Regions from separate parts of the Homo sapiens genome. Here region 1 is linked to region 2. Evidence: promoter capture Hi-C in 16 types of primary human blood cells and fetal thymus (Javierre and others, 2016). All regions are on one chromosome and are shown on one strand. The core of a region is centred on a gene start or on the middle of the fragment in contact, and the rest is flanking DNA. Distances in the headings are between cores, read along the strand shown. Region 1 overlaps ELOVL6 (ELOVL fatty acid elongase 6). Region 2 holds the start of CYP2U1 (cytochrome P450 family 2 subfamily U member 1).

The links. The method cuts DNA at HindIII sites, captures the fragments that hold promoters and counts their contacts. A CHiCAGO score of 5 or more calls a contact.
Region 1: a contact is called between a fragment that was not itself captured here and the fragment with the promoter of CYP2U1 in region 2, in 1 of 17 cell types (fetal thymus). The highest score is 5.1, in fetal thymus.

The regions. Positions count from the first base shown.
Region 1 is chr4:110,192,091-110,195,946 of GRCh38, reverse strand. All of the region lies in intron 1 of ELOVL6 (ELOVL fatty acid elongase 6), which reads left to right. Among named protein-coding and RNA genes, the nearest start is that of ELOVL6, 4.6 kb to the left of the region's middle. The HindIII fragment of the contact is 1,138 bases long and covers 985-2,122 here.
Region 2 is chr4:107,929,415-107,933,389 of GRCh38, reverse strand. CYP2U1 (cytochrome P450 family 2 subfamily U member 1) reads right to left here and starts at 1,841. Exons shown (of 5, transcript NM_183075.3): 1 at 1,257-1,841. The coding sequence starts at 1,746. It overlaps CYP2U1-AS1 (CYP2U1 and SGMS2 antisense RNA 1), which reads left to right and starts at 1,271. Exons shown (of 7, transcript NR_125929.1): 1 at 1,271-1,419. The region is part of intron 1 of LOC107986298 (a long non-coding RNA gene); the gene reads left to right. LOC124900751 (a long non-coding RNA gene) reads left to right here and starts at 1,805. Exons shown (of 2, transcript XR_007058221.1): 1 at 1,805-2,417; 2 at 3,487-3,975. RefSeq lists enhancers at 1,104-1,173, 1,234-1,303, 1,964-2,471 and a silencer at 1,514-2,103. The HindIII fragment of the contact is 6,450 bases long and covers 1-3,120 here.

The DNA of each region.
Region 1 (3,856 bases), core at 304-2,803, 2.3 Mb before region 2:
TCTGTACCTTTCTTCTGGCAATATCCTTTACTGTTATATACATGGTTATTAACTTACAGACCATCAGCTCTTCAGGTTACGGTTCTTGTCATCCCACTCTTGATTCTGCAAAGCACCTAGCAGAGTGCTTTGCATAAGGCACATTCTTGAGAAAATGTCCAGTGAGTTGAAATGGTGATTGGTGCCCATTTTATTGCCAGCACTACTCGTTAATACCCGAAGGTTAACAGGCTAGAACTTGCATACCGTGGCAGAGTCACATCTTGGGATTTTTCCCTTCCTGGCTTCTGCTCTCTGTTGATGTTATGTTCTTAGATTGCTTATTGCAGTCAAAGAACCCTGCTGGCTGTTACCCCTCCCTTGCAACTCTTCCTGACCCTAATTGTCTTACTTTCATGTTTTTTTTTAAATGCCAGATTTTGTGCATTTCTCCCAATATCCCAGGGTGCCCAATTTTATCTCTCCTCCCTCCCCAAAAACTGTACAGCCAAAAAGACTTTAAACACTTTTTAAAATTTAATTTTATTAGCCGGGTGTGGTGGCTCCTGCCTGTAATCCCAGCACTTTGGGAGGCTGAGGTGGGTGGATTACCTGACGACAGGAGTTCGAGACCAGCCAGGCCAATATGGTGAAACCCCATCTCTACTAAAAATACAAAAAAATTAGCCGAGCGTGGTGGCGGGTGCCTGTAATCCCAGCTACTCGGGAGGTTGAGGCAGGAGAATTGCTTGAACCCGGGAGGTTCAAATTAAAGCTTTTAGTTTTTATTTTTAATAGAATCCAGCTAATGCAGGACAAAAAGTCTTGAACCAGATTTTCTTTTCACTCCCTTTTTAATAGGAGAAGGGAACTCCATAACCAAGGCTTAGACCCTCTTGAGGAGAGAGGAACTTGAGGAAACCATAAAATCTTACCTTTTTCAGACTCATTAACTTAAAATGGTTTGAAATAGCTTCTGGAGGAAAAACATGATATAGTGAAGCTTCTACTCTGTCTTTTGGGAATTTATGGTTGTCCTTATAAATCTCTTCTTAGTAACAGGCAAAACTTGTTAATTTAGAGAATTAAAACATCCTCTCTCAAAAGTGAACTACATTGGCTTTTGAAGAACTGTGAGAATGGCCAGGAGTAGTATTTTGCCAGTATGCTGCCTTTGCTAACTAGCATCATTTAAGAGGACCTAAAATAAGAATACTTTATTAAACATACGCTATAATCCATACTTACTAACCATAGCGCAAATTAATGTTAACATACCCTATAATCCATACTTACTAACCATAGCACGTGTTAATGGAATGGGGCCCGACTTTTGGAGTAGCATTTGTATAAACCCTAAAGGGTTCAACTGAGGCTAGTTTTCAAGTTTATTGCTGCTTTAATGAATCATTAACCTCATACTCATTGGCCTAGCCATGAAAGTAAATACTGCAGACTTTTTTTACTTTGCTAGCAAAAAGTTTCATATATAATAGGTTAGAATAGCAATTGAAATGCAAAGTAATAAGTGTATTCCCTTGTAGAATCATCCTGGGCCTCATCTTGAAACTACATGTCCAGTGAAAAATATCCTGTCTGGTTATATTATCTGGTCAATGAGAGTTTATTACATGAGGTAGAGAAAAATGTCTGCTCATAGGTCCAAATAGGAGTTTTGAATTCTAATTTTCACTGAAAAGTCCTTGCAATTTTACAACATTGAAAATAGAGACATTTTGCTCTTTTATGAGATGTCTGGCCTTTACCTGTTTTTCTCACTAAGAGCTGACTTAAGTTGGAAGTGCTGCTAGCCAGGGAGCAAAATCACCTGGTGATTGCTAAGGCGACATATAATTCATTGAGTGAGAAGGGAAGCTGGGCTCTCTCTGCCTTCTCTTTCAGCAGCCTGCCAGGTTTGTGCTAACAGCAGTGGATGCTAGTTGCTCCAGTTGTAATTGTCTAGCCAATGATGATTATCTTCTGATGTCGGCTGACACGGTGCCCACCAATAGGAAAGCAGGAGGCCTGTGCTGACTGCTGTAACATTATGTATGTGAGGTGACGTCTTCAAAGGGCTTGCCTAGAACTTCATGAAACCCTCCCCCTCTCCTGGCATTCTCCACACATCCAGCCTTTCAAAGCTTTATATATTTTTCTGACTTTTCTCCCCACTCACTCCCTTGGTGGTGTAAAAGGGTTTACTTGTTTTAACATTTTGTATTCTGTATTATAGAGTCTATAAGATAGTATAGGAATTTTAAGAATTAAATGCTGTTCAGCTGAGGAAGCCTTTTTATTCACAAATTTGTTTTTACCAAAGGTAAAAATGGAGTGAAACATTTTATTTTATTTTGTTTTATTTTTGAGACAGGGTCTCACTCTGTTGCCCAGGCTGGAGTGCAGTGGCACAATCTTGGCTCACTGCAACCTCTGCCTCCGGGTTCCAGTGATTCTTATGTCTCAACCTCCCAAGCAGCTGGGATTACAGGTGCCTGCCATGACACCAAGCTAATTTTTGTATTTTTAGTAGAGATGGGAATTCACCGTGTTGGTCAGGTTGGTCTTGAACTCCTGACCTCAAGTAATCCGCCCACCTCGGCCTCCGAAAGTGCTGAGATAACAGGCTTGAGCCACTGCAACCGGCCGTGAAACATTTTAAAAGGAGTTGTACATCTATATCTTTTTTGTAGGTGAAGTTTGGAAAGTAACACGATGTACAATTTCATGATTAAAGAACATAAAAAGCACTAAAAACCTGTGTTAGCATTTAACTCAAATATAGCAGCATAAAAAATATAGCAGCATAATGTTAATGAAACTGTTCAAATGCAGACATAGTATTTGGCTGTTGTTTTTCATTTAGTGAGGATTGCTTTGAATTGCTTCCTGAAGTCTTCCTTGCAACCTTCTACATTCATTTGTAAGAAAAATGGCTGGAAAACAGTGCATCTGTGACTATGGAACAGAGTAGGCCAGAGTTTCATTTCATCATTAACATTGCAGCAACAAATTTGGTCAGCTCTGTAGGAATATAGTGTGTCTATATTGTACTCATGTCACTTGCTGTTTATTTTGAGGTATCACAGTTCATATTGATTTAGGATTAAAACTTGTGTGAGGATCATAACATGACATTCAATAATTTTTAGAAAGCACTGGGATGTAGGCATATGTACTAGGTTAAGAGTGAGAAGAATGAGAAAATACATAGAGAAAAAACGTGTAATCTGTGTGGGGTCCTAGAAAATAATGTAAAGTTGTGCTGGAGCTTTGATATGAACTTTCATGTATCTTTTAATAAATTATAAATATTCATGCAATTCTTGTTTAGGATTCCAAAGGATGAAAGCCAGCTTAATGCAAAATATTTTATGATTATATTATCCATCTGTGTATTTGTACTAGTTATAATTAGTGCTTAAAATTTTTTCATGAAGTCTTTTTCACATTGGAAGTAAAATTTTGTGATCTTCAGAGGATTGCCTGTTGCTTTTTTGTTTGAGGGTGATTCTAAATGTGTCAAAGTGTATAACATTGGAACTTAATGAAACTTTTCAAATGCAGACATAGTATTTCACTGTTGTTTTTCCTTTAGTGAGGATTGCTTTAAATTTCTTCCTGAAATCTTCCTCGTAACCTTCTGCGTGCATTTGTAAGAAAAATGGCTGGAAACTTCAAAGTCAACTTATTCCATATCTAAGAGTTGCCTTATATACTTCCTTGAAAGAAGAATCTTTCTTTTTCTTTTTTTTCTTTCTTTCTTTTTTTTTTTTTTCTTGGATGGAGTTTTGCCCTTGTTGCCCAGGCTGGAGTGCAATTGTTCCATCTCGGCTTACTGCAACCTCTGCCTCCTGGGTTCAAGTGATTCTCCTACCTC
Region 2 (3,975 bases), core at 592-3,091:
GAGAAAACCTACCTGCTTTTCTTTTCTTTTTTAAAAATTGTGGTGAAATACATATAAAATTTACCATCTTAACCATTTTTAAGTGCACACCTTAATGGCATTAGGTACTGTCACACTGTTGTGCAACCATTGCTACCATCCATCCATAGAACTTTTTTCATCTTGCAAAACTGAGACTTTCTGTCCCTATGAATTTCACTACGCTAGGAGGCACCTCATATAAGTGGATCATACAATATTTGTCTTTTCCGTTTAAAATCCTGATGCAAAACTCTGGCTTTATCAGATTCTGAAAAGCCTAGATCTTTCTTTGCCATGTTATAGGGGCAGGAAATAGCATTCATTTAATAGATACTTGAACTCCTACTATGTTTCAGACAGCAATGACTCTGTCCTCCTAGATGTCAGAACAGTGGTGAAGACTGACATCCAGGCCCAAGGTCATAAAGTTATGTAGCGTCAGTTTTGAAAAGTGTAGTGAAGGAAAAGTGCTTGGGCAAGGGACCTGGTTCTAACAAGGGAGGCTACCCTACTTGCAGAGGCTGTGAGAAAAGGCTTCCCCAAGGAAAAGGCATTTAACACCTGACTGATGCGTAGGAGTGACTCAGAAAAGAAGTCAGAGACCTAAGCCAGCCAGTAAGACAAAGGGGGACGGTAGAGACAGGTTAGATTGGACATTTTATTGCAGCAGATAACACGTTTTCCAACCCCCAAAAATGTCCAATTTAGACTCCCATACGCAGGAATCAGAGGCTATGAACCAAAGCCGGAGATTTGGTAATAGGCTTCTTCTGTGTTTTCTGGACTTTTTATCTTATTGGAAATTATCTTCTTAAATTCTTACATTCGAAACCCACAAGGTAAAAAGAATATCCTTCCCTCTTTCTAACATGGGGGCCAAAGTTTCTCTCCGAGGTCACAGCTGGTGGAAGGGAAGGCTACTTTTGGAAAGATGGAACCTGGCTTGCCACCTTGTCCTTCCGCCATCCCTATTACTCTCCCTCAATCTCCGGATGACTTTTCTACTTATGATCTTGGAGTATGAGCAAGTCACGCGTCCGTCACTACTTGATGGGATCTTAAAGGCATCAGAAAGGAGAAGCGCCGCCACCACCATCACCTGTTAGTTCAGGATGCAGGTGTGAGGCAGCCTGGGGGCGCGGGCGGCCGGAAGGGGCACAGGAACTGCAGCCCCCACGCACCTGGAGACTCATCCGCGGCATCCGCGTACCCACAGCCCACGACCTCCCGCTCACCCTTCTCCTTGGTCACGATGGAGATGAGCGGCACCCGCGGGCGGTCGCTGAAGACCTCGGCCTGCTGCACCAGCGCCTCGCGCACGCTGTGGAAGTCGCTGAGGACCACCACCAGGTAGTGGCCGATAAAGAAGCTGAAGATGCTGCCGTACACGCGGGCTAGGTGAGCCAGGAGCACCTGCGGGCCTATGACCGAGGGATCAATCCCTGCGGCCCTGGTCCTGCTGCTCAGCCAGCTCCGCCGCCGGAGGAAGGGAGGCAGCAGCACGTGACCGAAGTTGCCCACCAGAGGCCAGGGCGTGGGCCCGGGCGGGATGCCCCGCGCCCGGCGCCTCCGCAGCCAGCTCCAGCCCAGCAGCGCTACGAGGCCGCATAGCAGCAGCGCGCCCCCGCTGGGGTCCAGCCGCAGCAGCCCCAGAGGCGCACGCAGGAGGCGCGCGGGCCAGGGCGGGTCCTCGGCCGGCGGCTGCGACGGCCCCGGAGACGACATGGTCCGGGCGCCGGCGGCCTCGGGTTCCCCTTGCTGCCTGGAGGAGACGCGCACGCAGCTGCCTGACCCGCGGCGCCAGTGTCCTGCTCTGCTCTGGAAGGTCGGGGGCGGGCAGGGGGTGTAGGAACGCCCCCGGATTGGCTGCGCCGCGCGCATTCTCCCCGCCGCCGCCACTCAGCGACGCCTGGGCGGAACCTGGAGGCGCGCCGGCTGCCTGGCGGAGGGGGTTGGCGGGCTAGCAGGCGGGGGACCTGAAGTTTGCCCCGAAGTCCGGTTACGACCCTTTGCAGGGTCGGGCTTGGCGGTGACTGTCCCTGAAACTGGGATGCTGGCAACACAACCTTGCGCTCTGATTGGCTGTTGGTTTCCCTTGTGTCATTCGTTTGTCATTATCACTCGTTTGTCAGTTGACAAACACAAACGCATGGTTATGAAGTGCATAAACCGTGTTAGGATCTGTACTGAGTGTGGGAAACTGGTGAACAGGCCCGTGAGATGGGTCGGCCTTAGCACCTGTGCCCTGAGCTGGGAGAATGGGGTCAACGCCCTATTCCTGCATGCTTCGGTGTAGTAGTGAAAAGACGGGGTTCCTTATCTAAACTGGGATTCGCAGCACCCTTTCCTCCACGCAGAGACAGCAGGATGCTGGGAAGCCGTGGAATGCAGAATCTGTGGGTGTCGGCTTGGCAGCCAACTCTGCGGAAGGGATGATGGCGGGAGTGGGGGGAGCGAGGGGCGGGCAGCGAGGCACGAGGAGTCACGTTCTGAGAGCTTGCCCTGGGCTAGAAAACTTATGCGGAGAGCGAAAGCTGTGTCCATTCCTGCGTGTGGCCTGGGTGCATTAGAAAATGTACTTAAATCCAGAAATAGCGAAACCAGAATTTGCTTGGTGGATTTAAGTAGCTAGAAATATGAAAAGAAGATAACCGGTTGAGGGAGGGGTGGCAATATTATTATTGGTGTTAGACAACACTTGAAAGGCTGAGGTTGAAATATTAGATATGAATTGTATAATACTTTAAAAACAAAGTATTACTTTATTTTATCTTCTCAGATAATGGCTTTCCTGATAAGGGCTTCCCTTTCAGTCTTGTTTAGGCCAAATCCTGTAGTTTCTGTTCAAGTTGGATTGAGCATAGAATTGTCTGTACTGGGCCATTTTTCTAGCCGTTTCATTTTTCTCCATACATTAAAAGTTTGAACACCACGCTGTACCTATAAAAATGTGATCAAAGAAAGCATAGTGAGTCCTCAAATAAATACATGATCCATTTTATTTTTCTATAAACAAGTGATGCCAGTAGGATATGTTAAATTTCAAGTCCACTCTGTTCTCATATTCTTTTTGACATGCTTTTCATGTTATTTTAAGCTTATGCACCCCAAACAAAAAAAAAAAACCTCCACACCTCTCATCTTCTATAATTAACCACTACTTGTGAGATTACTTTTCTCATTTTTTTTGAATTTTTGAATTAAGAGAAGTTTTTAAAAATTTAAACTACTTGTTTGCAGATACGATCTTCAACATGACATTCTGGATGTCATCTGATTCTAGGGCTTTGCTCTCTGAAACAGTAGCCACTATATACATCATCCCATACAAGCAATTTAAATTCATAAATGATTTTAAAATAGTTGAAGCTGTGACTAATTTAACAACTCCAACAGCCACCCTTTTATATTGTACAGGATGTAACTGCACGTGTAGTGTTTTCCTAAATCTCTCATTTTCACTAGGTTAATAGCTGTGCGGGGCAGATAGGAAATCTGGGCTGAATTCAGCCTCTCCTCACCACTATATGTTGAAGTCCTAACCCCCAGTGCCTCAGAATAAGACTGTATTTGGAGAAAGGGCCTTTAAAGAGGTAATTAAGCTAAAATGGAGTCCTGTGGATGGGCTCTTACCAATATGACTGGTGTCTGAAGAGGAGATAAGGACACAGAGAGGAAAGAGGATGTGAGGACACAGTCAGAAGGCAGCCATCTACAAGTCAGGAGAGAGGTCTCAGAAGAAATCAACCCTGCTGACACCTTGAGTTTTGACTTCTAGTCTCCAGAACGGTGAGGATATAAATATAAATTTCTGTTGTTTAAAACATCCAGTCTGTAGTACTTTGTTATGGCTGCCCTAGCAAACGAATACAGGAAGGGATATTGTTCATAATATTATGGATACACTTTTATTTTATTATTATTATTTTTTGCGATGGAATCTCGCTCTTTCGC